2 separate regions of the Homo sapiens genome follow, and region 2 is linked to region 1. The links are contacts of gene promoters, found by promoter capture Hi-C in blood cells and fetal thymus (Javierre and others, 2016). All regions are on one chromosome and are shown on one strand. The core of a region is centred on a gene start or on the middle of the fragment in contact, and the rest is flanking DNA. Distances in the headings are between cores, read along the strand shown. Region 1 holds the start of SLC28A2 (solute carrier family 28 member 2). Region 2 has its middle 3.2 kb from the start of TRH-GTG1-9.

Region 1 (5,721 bases), core at 1-2,500:
CAATCAGAGTGCAGGGAGGGGTCCTAAGTTTTATCCAGAGGGCGTCATAGGAAGCTTTCTTTCTTTCTTTCCAGGCCAGGATAAGTGTTACCAGCTCTGTAAAGTCTTTCTCTCCCTCTTTTTTTTTTTTTTTTTTTTTTTTGAGATGGAGTCTCGCTCACCCAGGCTGGAGTGCAGTGGCATGATCATGGCTCACTGCAACCTCTGCCTCCTGGGTTCAAATGATTCTCCTGCCTCAGCCTCCTGAGTAGCTGAGATTACAAGCCTGCACCACCATGCCCGGATAATTTTTGTATTTTTAGTAGAGATGGAGTTTCGCCATGTTGGCCAGGGTGGTCTCGAGCGCCTGACCTCAAATGATCCGCCTGCCTCTGCCTCCCAGTGTGCTGGGATTACAAGCGTGATTCACCGCGCTCGACCTGCAAAGCCTTTCTTGACACATCCGTCTTTCCTCACTGATCTGTTCGTTTTTTGATGGCAGAGACCTTGTCTCACTCATTTTTATGTCCTCACACGGAAAACGGTGGCTGGCTAATAGTGGTTACTCAATAAGTATTTGTTGAATGGATTAATAAAATAATTCCTAGCAGTCATTTGGCATGGAATCATGTACAGTCGTGCTGTTTATTGTTTTCTAGGGCATGTCTTTCCAGCACAAAATGATGGTAAATTTTCTGGGTGCAGAGACGGCTCTTACTGTATTTTACAGGCTACCCAGTGCCTAGTCCAGTGGTGGGTAATGCTTACAGGAATGTACCTGTTAGAAGTTCTTACAGAATTCTTTTGTTTTGTTTTGTTTTCTGACAGGGTCTCACTCTGTCGCCCAGGCTGGAGTGCAGTGGCGCAATCACAGCTCACTGCAACCTCCACCTCCAGAGGCTCAAGGGATCCTTCCACCTCCGCCTGCCGAGTAACTGGAACCACAGTCGTGTGCCACCGCGCCCAGCTAATTTTTGTATTTGTTGTAGAGATGTGGTTTCGCCATGTTATCCTGGCTGGTCTCAAGCGATCCGCCCGTCTCGGCCTCCCGAAGTGCTGGGATTACGGGCGGGCGCCACCTCTGCATAAGTCTTAGGCCTGCAAAACAGTCTTAAAAACATATAATATTTAACTTGAGAGGTGCAGTCCTCCTCTACATTGAGGGCAGGCTCAGCGAAGGAGGGCCCAAGACATAAAACTAACCAATGGCAGGAAAGCCCCCATGCCCCACCCAAGCTGCCCCTCCTCCCTCGCAGCTGAGCTTTTCTTTCAGTCCTTCACTGAGGAGCCAGAGGGAATCAATTCCACAAGCTGGGGTAAGTAAAGGTGTTTGGGGGAGGGCAGGTGCCTAATTTACAAATTTTTAAAGAGATCATATTTAAACTAAATGCAGGTAGTTTTGTGCCTAGTCAGGAAGGCCCTAATTTACACAATATAAGTTGGTTATGTGTGTTTAATGAAATTATACTTCAAATGCTTGAAGAGATCACATTTTCAAAAGCAATTCCATGGGGAAGGGAATTTTCTGCAAAGTAAATAAATATCTCAGAATGAACTTATATTCTAATTGTGAATGTCCATGTATTAAATTTGCTTATTCTGAGGCCCAAATGTTTGCTTATTTTGTTTAAAAACTTTACTTGGGATCATTAACATTCATACTAATTATTTTAAATGTAAGTTTTGTTAATTTCACTGATGAGTTCTCTCTGGGGCATAAAAAACCAATTCTTATGCTACATTATAGTCAGGAATTTGAAGGCCTGTAAATTGTTATCTGTTCAGCAATACTTTAGGGTCCGGGTCTTCCCAACTGCCTTCCTCCCTGTTTCCTTCTTACTCAGCAAGCTCAGTGGGGCCTCCCTGGGGCTAAAAGGAGTAGTTACCCTGTGACTCTTTCTTTGAGGGTCCAAGTAGGAACCTTTATAGCCCAGATCCTGGGGCCCTGGGCGGCCCACTGATTCATTTCAATTCCACTGCCTTTCATTTCTCTTCTCCTATCTTACTGCCTCTTCTTTAGCTATTCACAAGAGGAAATAGGATTTTATTTTTCATTATTTATTATATAAAAATTACACATCCAATCTTCTCAATTCTCAGTTCTTAAAGAAATCAACTAAGCCTTCAAAGACTTTTAGTTTTGCGTTTTCCATGGGTAACTGGTCCTAAAAATTCTCCCCATCCCCACAGAACAGAATGACCAATCTTTCAGGCTTGGCCCTGAATTTGTTTTTCAGTTGAGGAGAACAGGAGATGGAGAAAGCAAGTGGAAGACAGTCCATTGCTCTGTCCACAGTGGAGACTGGCACAGTGAACCCGGGGCTGGAGCTCATGGTAATCACCAGTTTAGTTTCTCTCTGCAGAGCTGTGGGCTGCTGCATGGGCTCCTGTAGGGTATTTGGCTGCTCTCAATCCCCATCATCCCTGGCAGGGCTCCATGACTGATCCCAATGCTCTCTGTGCTTGTAGGAAAAAGAAGTAGAGCCTGAGGGAAGCAAGAGGACTGACGCACAAGGACACAGCCTGGGGGATGGACTGGGCCCTTCCACTTACCAGAGGTACTGGTGTTTTGGAATCTTGTTCAGTTAGGAAAGGATCTAGGGTGGGCTGCCCCTTCAGGCAGCTTGTGGTATTATCACAACCGCTCCACCTTACCATGTGTACATATATATATGTATCTTACATAATTAATTAACTTAAACATGTGCCATAAACTCCATAAAAAAAAAGGAGTTCAGCAGTATCAGTGTTGGTTGGACTGAAAATAAAAATAATAACAATGGTAATAATGGCTAACAGATTTTGAGTGTATACTTACTATTTTGCAGATTGCTTTATGTTATACATTTATTTTCATTACAACAGGTAGGTATTCATTTTAATCCCTTTAGAAATTAATTTACCATATCATTAAAAAAACAGTAGCTCTTCTGGAATACTCAGATTTGGGAATGGTGGAGAGGAAGGGAAACCTGGGGAGAAAACACAGAAGGACTTATTATAAGGATAATAAAGACAGTAAAAAAGATCTTAGAAGTCAAAAGAGAAGAGTCTCAAGAATGAAGAAGGTACAGTCCACAGTGCTATGTGAACAGGGGTCTAGGAAGGAGGAGTGAGAAAAATCTTTGAATTTGTTTGTGGATCTGGTCCCAGAAGTAATGTCAAAGAAAATTGTTTGAGTAAAATAGATCATATGGAAAGAAGCAATGTTCCATGGTCTGGAAAACAGTGGGTATTTATAAAAGAGTGCAGAAGTCATACACTAAAAGCTGAGAAGAGGACATTGGATAGCTTCTAAAGGGAATACGGTCATGAGCTACATAATGATGTTTCAGTCAATGATGGACCGCATTATACAATGGTGTATAATCATGTATATCAACGGTGTATATCATTACACAACGGTGGTCCCATAAAATTATAATACTGTATTTTTACTGTGCCTTTTCTATGTTTAGATATGTTTAGATACACAAATACTTACCATTGTGCTATAGTTGCCTACAGTATTAAGTACAGAAACATGCTGAACAGATTTGCAGCCTAAGAATAATAGGATCCACCATATAGCTTGGATGTGTCGTAAGCTATACCATCTAGGTTTGCATAAGTACACTGTAAGATGTTAGCATAATTATGAAATTGACTAATGTTGAATTTATCAGAATGTATCCCTGTTGTTAAGTAACACATGACTATATATGGAGATGATTCAGAGCAGCTTCCAAACAAAAGGTTATTTTTATATTTTCTTCTCTTTATTTTTGAAAGTTACCTCAGTGACTTCTTAAAATTTTTAATTGTTTTATTCACAATTTGCTTCTCTCTAAAAATTTTTATATTATCATGTTTTATATATACTGAATTGACAGTAAATTCTTTGTAAGTTTTTCATGCTTACATGATATTTCATATTTTACTTAGCAGTGTGGCCGTTAATCATGTGAGTCACATTGCTTGTGTCTATATTTGAACAGTGGTATGCTAGTAAATGTTTAAGAATTGACTCTCCACCGGGCTAGTGGCTCATGCCTGTAATCCCAGCACTTCGTGAGGCTGAGGTGAGAGGATCACTTGAGCCCAGGAATTCAAGACCAGCCTGAGCAACATAGTGAGACCTGCCTCTACAAAAATTTTTAAAAATTAGCAGGGCATGGTGGTGCGTGCCTGTAGTCCCAGCTATTCCAGGAGGCCGAGGTGGGAGGATCACTTGAGCCCAGGAGGTTAAGGCTGCAGTGAGCCATGATCGTGCCACTGTACTCCAGCCTAGGGGACAGAGTGAGACCGTCTTGAAAAAAAAAAAAGAAGAAAGAACCGGCTGTCCACATGTAGTTTTGCAATGAATGTTGGTTAATATTTTTGCTCACCTTAATGAGGAGTAAGACCAGGGGTTGGCAAACTTTTCCTGTAAAAGATAAGGTAGTAAATATTATTGGTTTTGTGGTTGATGTGGTCTCTGTTGCAATTATTAAACTCTACCATTTTCGTAGGAAAGCAGCCACAGGTGATACTAAACAAATGAGCATGGCTGTGTTTTGATAAAACTTAATTTTTAAAAAGAAGGTGAGATGAACTTGGCCCACAGACCACAGCTTGCTAATCTTTAGTCTAGATGAAATAATAAATTAAGACCTTATTTACAGTATTCGCCTGTAACGTAAAAACTCTCAACATGGCTGATTTCAAGTAACCAAAGGGTTACTTGAACAAGGAGTTGGGAAGAGATGTATCATTATATAAAATTTCCACCATACACATACAGCAGACATGAATAACTTCATGAGCTCACATGACAGAAAAATGTAGCAAAATAATTAGAAAATGATGAGTTTTTAGTATTTATTACCTTTGTCTTTAATGTAATTTAATTATACGTTTATATAGTTTTAATTTTTAGTAATGGCTTGCACAATTCCTGAAAATGTAACAATCACTTCTCTCAAGCCAGCGCAGGCCAGCTTCCCCTGCACCACTGACTCTAGCACTTACCAGATTTTGGGCAAGTTATTTACCCTCTCTAAACCTCAGTTTTCACCCTGTAAAACAAGAATAATATTAGTACTTAGCTGAAAGGATCTTGGTAATTTTTTTTTGCCAGACTGTTGTTGGCACCTTAAACTGCTCTGATATATAACATGTCCAGTTCCCTTCAAGTCTTATCGACCTTATATTTTCTCATATAAACCATGTTAACTAGTTACATAGATATAAAATCATGCCTTAAAGTTCTAACTTGCATTTATTTTTATTTTTTGAGAAATGAGGTCTTACTTCATTACCCAGGCTGGTCTTGAATTGCTGGGCCCAAACAATCCTCATGTCTCAGCCTCCCAAAGTGCTGAGATTACAGGTGTGAGCCATGTGCCTGACCTTAACTTGCATTTCTTTAAATTTTTGTAAAGCTACACATTTTCCTCCATTTGCCTTACTTTCCATATTTCTACGTGTGATTTTCTTTTCTTTTTTTTTGGAAACGGAGTCTCACTCTGTCATCCAGGCTGGAGTGCAGTGGTGTGATCACTGCAACCTCCACCTCCCGGGTTCAAGCGATTCTCCTGTCTCAGCCTCCCGAGTAGCTGGGATTACACGTGCTACCACACCCAGCTAATTTTTTTTTTGTATTTTTAGTAGAGATGGTGTTTCACCATCTTGGCCAGGCTGGTCTTGAACTCCTGACCTCAGGTGATCTGCCCACCTCAGCCTCCCAAAGTGCTGGGATTATAGGCGTGAACCACTGTGGCC
Region 2 (6,017 bases), core at 2,845-5,344, 47 kb before region 1:
ACCTGGCCAGGGCTGAAATTATAACGGACAATGAAGTGTGCACAAAAAGTTCGGTGCACACTCTGGGGCTTTCCTTTCTCATCTGCTAGTGAATCAGTCACCCCCACCTTCCCCAATATGTGATTATTTTATTTTTGTGTAGTTTCTGTGTGGTACTCTTTATTTTACCCTTGTGAATGACCGAATCATATATTGGATCCTCTAAAAACCTTCACACTAGCTAAAACATCAATACTTTGGGACAAAGGGGTGATAGGAACAATGTGCAAACATTAATTAAGGGTTAGAAGAATGCAGATTAGACCATACGCTGAACCGTTTTGCTTCAGATCCCGTGACAAGTGAAATATATGACTGCACTAGAGGTGCTGGTTCCAGTAGCCACTATGAGGGGTGCTAATGAGAGGTTTGTGGCCTTCATCTCCACAGTCTCCTAGGTGAGAGGGGGTTTTCTCCTGGAGGGTTTTCCCCTAATCTACCTCAAGTTTAAGCACATTTTGTTTGCTTGTTTTATGTGGACCTAAAAAACCCAAACTCAACAAATTCAAGTCTGTCATTTGGCATTAGGCAAAATGGAAGTGAGTTTTGGATTTGACTTTCAGGCAGCTGGTGGTGGCTATGTCACTCTCAAGGAGGGAATGAGAGGGCACTGAGGAATGAGCCTCTCCAGCTCCTCTCAGGTGTCCTGAGGGTGGCAAGGCAAGCCCGAGATCATTCCTGGGAGAGACAGACATTGCAATGGGGTTGCGCCCCCTCTACCCACAATCAATCAGTAAAGAATGAACAGCACTTAAAAGCTAGGCACTGGCTTCATGCCTGTAATCCCAGCACTCTGGGAGGCCGAGGTGGGCGGATCTCTTGAGCTCAGGAGCTCCAGACCAGCCTGGGCAACATGGCGAAACCCTGTCTGTACCCAAAATACAAAAATTAGGGCATGGTGGCGTGTGCCTGTAGTCCCGGCTACCTGGGAGGCTAAGGTGGAAGGATTGCTTGAACCCGAGAGGCAGAGGTTGCAGTGAGCTGAGATCACACCACTGCATTCCAGCCTGGGCGACAGAGCAAGACCCTGTCTCAAAAAAAAAAAAAAAAAAAAAAAAAAAAAAGCAAGGCACTGCGTGGGGGCTGTAATCTCCCCAGGTCTCCAGTCTCCCAGTTCTCTACATTTGGCGAGTTTAAACCACACAACAGGACAGCTCACACCTCGAGAGTGTTCTGCGCAAAATAGAATGGGGAAAGGTGAGCCTGAGAACTTGCCAAGCTTTGGATGACTGATTCAAACGTTATATGTCTAGAAAATCAACATCGCCAACAACAAAAAAAGAACTGGCCAACAGGAATGTGGTGACTTATATTCCTCCAACCCCTCACCAAATAACTGCTGTGACGGATTTCAATCTGTGGGCTGGAATAAGGTGTCAGGGTGGGATGCCAGGAAAGGCTCTGGCTTTTCCCCTGAAGACCAGCCCCCACTGCCCTGCTGCAGGTGCTTCAGTAGGCAATGAGCTGCTCCCACACCCTGAGGAGAAAGTTAGGAGTAGCCACTCTCTAAGAGTACTACAAGGAAAAAGTGTCAACCAAGAGGCTGGGCATGGTGGTTCATGCCTGTAATCCCAGCATTTTGGGAGGCTGAGGTGGGAGGATTGCTTGAGCTCCGGGGTTTGAGACCAGCCTAGACAACATGGTGAGAAGCTCTCTCTATAAAAAATACAAAAATTAGCCAGGTGTGGCGGTGTGTACCTGTAGTCCCAGCTATTCAGGAGGCTGAAGTGGGAGAATTGCTTGAGCCTGGGAGGGGGAGATTGCAGTGAGCCGTGATCATGCCACTGAACTCCAGCCTGGGCAACAGAACAAGACCCTGTCTCAAAAAAAAAAAAAAGCGTCAACCAATAAAACAAAAATCACAAACATTCACCATCTGAGATAACCCACTAGCCATCCATGTCTGAGGTCAGGAATGCTAAAGAAAGCTGAACTGAAAGTGTTGTATTGTGACCTAGTTGCAGGAAGAGTGACACGAGGGGAGGGCTGCCTTTTTGGCAGCTACACGGTAGTCCATGAGATGGGCGCATCCAGCTCTCAACATTTCATAACATCCTCTTCTGAGGTCACTCAGTCAATTTTCCTTACAAAACAGACTTTGATAATGATTTGCCCATTAGACTTCCCTACAGGAAAAAGCATGCTTTGAACAAGCTTATTGGCACTGTTCTCCTAACTGTGGGTGTTTTGGTTTAGACTCATAAGAGTCTGGTTAGCATAATTCATTTCCCTTGTGCCTACTTATCTCTAGGTACACTGACAAAATGGAATGTCAGGGCTGGCAAAGCCCTGCTCCTGGAGACCCTGGCCTGGAATGACCTCATCAAGACCCCGCTGCCCTGGGACACCCTCTCTGAGCAATCAGTCAGCACCCCCTTCCTGTTGGTCCCTTGCTTTTAAAATTGTTTTATGATTTCTGATTCTGGGAATGTAATATTTCCTCCTATCACTTCCAGCTTGAGGTTGGAACTCTTCTCTAGGTCTCAGTGCCAGGAAAGAGGTAGGGTGCTTATACTTAAGAGCACCCTGTTCACACATTCCAGCTCCAGTTGTTCCCATCTTGGTTGGATTTGTTAATTTCTGCAGGTTTCCAACCTCTAAGTCACTTTGAATTTTTTTCCCTTCCATCTGATAGACCCTGAGGTACAGTAGTTGATAGTACTAGACTAGTCCTAACTCTAATTAAGGGGTAGCATAAGTTGGGGATGGTGGCTCACGCCTGTAATCCCAGCACTTTGGGAGACTAAGGTGGGAGGATTGCTTGAGCCCAGGAGTTCAAGACCAGACTAGACAGTATAATGAGACCTCGTCTCTGTTGGGGGAGCTAGCATAGCTTAGTAATGAAGCCTCTGACACCTGAAAGTAGGCTGTTTAAGATTTGAATCTCAACTCATCCATTTACTAACTAGGTGACCCTGGGGAAGCAACATGTCTCCATGCCTCAGTTTTCTCACCTGTAAAATGATTGTAGAATGACTTCTCATCTGTAAAAGGATTGTTATGAAGATTAAATGAATGAATATTTGTAAAGCAATAGTGCCTGGCACTTACAAAGCCCTACTGAAGTTTTACTTAAATAATATAGTAGATGGGAATATAACATAATGAAATCAACTCCTTAAAAATGAACACCCTGGAACATAAACATCCAAATGAGTATTGTGTTTCAAATCAGGCATTCCACTTTCTCCAAACAGCTGCCCAAAATATTTTTGGAATTCTTATTTGGAGATTATTTTCAGGGCTAATTTATAAGCCATATGAGTACATCCACCTCAATATTTATAATCACATTCTATTTTGAAATAACTTTTGACTGCTTTTAAAGCTACCTTCAAAGAGAAAAATGTCACCACTGAGTCTTTTAAGGCACAAAAATTTCAATGACAATGCCAGAAATGTTTTATAAATAACATTCCAGCAAAAGAAAAACAATTTTTTTTTTTTGGTAGGAGTGTGTAGACTTCAAAGGGCAAACCTTGAAAGGGACAACAGTAATTTATAAGCTTCAGATTGTCTGCTTAAACCATCAACCCCACAGCTTCCTGGTTATACTCCCTGGTTATACCTCGTATATCTGGGAGCTGCCAACCCCCACAGGGGCGCAGTGTTGAGCAGCTGCCACTGGACCAGCAGGCTCTGGTCCTGGAAGGCTTGTCCAAAATTCAGAATCTTGATCCACAACTCAGAATTACCCAGTGAAAATCTTCGGTTTTCCACAAGGTCCTCTCCAAGTGATTCATCTGCACAGGAAAGTTTGAGAAGTGCTGCTCTAGCCTAAAGCTCTAATGGAATCCTTCATTGTTCATCTTGTGAGTACTTGGGTTACTAGAAGGGACCTGCCTGAATCTACTGAGCCTCATCAATGGGGATGTCATTGAGGTTTTCACAGTGAGGAGATGGTGATCTGGGAGGGAGTCATCAAAGGGCCCATGTTTAGGGCCGTCTAGGGAGGAGGCAGCACATCTGGATTTCCACTAGAAGGCGCTGTGCCCCAGGAAGTAGTAGTGAAAAGCTGAGGCTGGAAAAGACTCATTTAATTTGCAACATACCACTTCTGACTTAACTGAGCCTGTTCCACAGGGATTCTCTGGGTAATGAGGACTCAGATTTCATCCATCTACTTATCTATCCATTCATCCATCCATCCATCCATCCATCCATCCATCCATCCATCCACTCATTCATTCATTCATTCATTCTTCATTCTTCCCATAAACTAGCATCTCTTAGTTCTTAAGTCATTGGGGGCTGCAAAGCTGTATAAGATACTTCTTGCCTAGAGTAGTTTATTTTTGAGCTGAGTTTGTCAACTGAGATTTGCCCCTCATCCAAAGTCAAGTGACCAGCATAGACTGTTCAATATGCTGTAGTCGGTCTCTTGTTTCTAGGTACTTCTCTCCATATCCACAAAAAGAAACTGTAGGGAAAGATGGTGCAGGACTTTATTCCTGGCATGAGACCTGAAACTAATTCCTGAGTCAGGAAGAATGCAGGAGCTGCCTTGCAGAAGCAAAGGTCTAAATCAGTGGTTTCCAAACTTTTTAGAACTGATAAACTAGGACAAACTTTTCACCACTGAATGAAAAAATGAGGTCAATGTGGTAAGCTTTTAAAATGCTAAATGCATTTAATCCAAAGGACTGTCCTCTAGGCTGAGACAATGACCTTTTTATTTTTGAGGTATTAAAGTGACTTTTATAAAACTATGGAGAAAGTAGGTGATAGGTGTTTTTTTGTTTGTTTTTGTTTTTGTTTGTTTGTTTTTTAGACGGAGTCTTGCTCTTGGCTCACTGCAACCTCTGCCTCCCAGGTTCAAGCGATTCTCCTGCCTCAGCCTCCTGAGTAGCTGGGATTACAGGCATGTGCCGCCACACCCAGCTCATTTTTGTATTTTTAGTAGGGACGGGGTTTCACCTTGTTGGCCAGGTTAGTCTTGAACTCCTGACCTCAGGTAATCCACCTGCCTCGGCCTCCCAAAGTGTTGAGATTACAGGCATGAGCCACTGTACCCAGCCAGTGATAGGTTTTAAAAAACATCTTTTCTTGGAAACGTTTTAAATTGGCAATGTTGGTCTCCAAAATTAGTTTTGAGTTACTGGTCAGAAAAATCTGCAAATACAAAGCTCACTACAGAGTTCAGAGAGCCAAAGCATCAGGCTGAGCAGAAATGGTCCTGGGTGAGTAGGGGGTCTGAGGAGGCATGCTCAGAGGGAGATGTGTTCCTGTTCTGTTGGGCAATGGTCCATGCTGACACCTATCCTCCTGCCCAATAACCAGTAGTGCCTAGTATGATCTGTGCTAGGCCTTGGAGATATGAATTAAATAAGACCCATTCTTACTCTGAGATCATTTTAGTTCGGGGTTAATCAGATGAGTGAAGAACTAATTAGAACTATGCCAGACATATATACAAAGTGTGTTGGAGCTTAGATCGTTGATTCTACCAGGATACAACATTTGATCTGAGTTCCAAGGCATGCATAGTACTTTTCCTGGAAAAGAAAGGGAAAGGATATTCTACTTGGGAGGCTGAGGCAGGAGAATCACTTAAGGCTGAGAGGCGGAGGTTGTAGTGAGCCGAGATTGCTCCACTGCACTCCAGCCTGGGTGAGAGAATGAGACTCTGTCTCAAAAAAGATAAAAAGGAAAGGGTATTCTAGGCAAAGAGAAAGGCATAAGTAAAAGCAAGGAAGTATGATGCACAGATAGCATAGGAAAAGACAAGTTGTAGCTACAACATTAGATATGGAGGGGAGGGAGGCCGGGGAGGGCGGATCACTTGAGGCCAGGAGTTCGAGACTAGCCTGGCCAACATGGTGAAACCCCATCTCTACTAAAAATACAAAAATTAGATGGGTGCAATGGCACATGCCTGTAATTCCCCCTAAAACAAACAAACAAAGAAACAACAAAGATATGGAGGAGAGAGTGGAGGGTGAGAGGCTGGAGCCAAATTTTGATGAATCTCTTACTTG

What was found. Contacts are between HindIII fragments. The CHiCAGO score rates a contact against its expected background, and 5 or more counts as called.
Region 2: a fragment that was not itself captured here is called in contact with the fragment with the promoter of SLC28A2 in region 1 in 1 of 17 cell types (M2 macrophages); the score reaches 5.0 in M2 macrophages.

Annotation. Positions count from the first base shown.
Region 1 is chr15:45,250,984-45,256,704 of GRCh38, forward strand. SLC28A2 (solute carrier family 28 member 2) reads left to right here and starts at 1,251. Exons shown (of 18, transcript NM_004212.4): 1 at 1,251-1,295; 2 at 2,217-2,313; 3 at 2,449-2,537. The coding sequence starts at 2,233. It overlaps SLC28A2-AS1 (SLC28A2 antisense RNA 1), which reads right to left. Exons shown (of 5, transcript NR_120335.1): 2 at 4,969-5,015; 3 at 4,347-4,384; 4 at 2,883-2,951; 5 at 598-1,089. The HindIII fragment of the contact is 6,298 bases long and covers 53-5,721 here.
Region 2 is chr15:45,201,308-45,207,324 of GRCh38, forward strand. No RefSeq gene overlaps it. Among named protein-coding and RNA genes, the nearest start is that of TRH-GTG1-9, 3.2 kb to the left of the region's middle. RefSeq lists an enhancer at 1-45 and a silencer at 1-48. The HindIII fragment of the contact is 1,103 bases long and covers 3,544-4,646 here.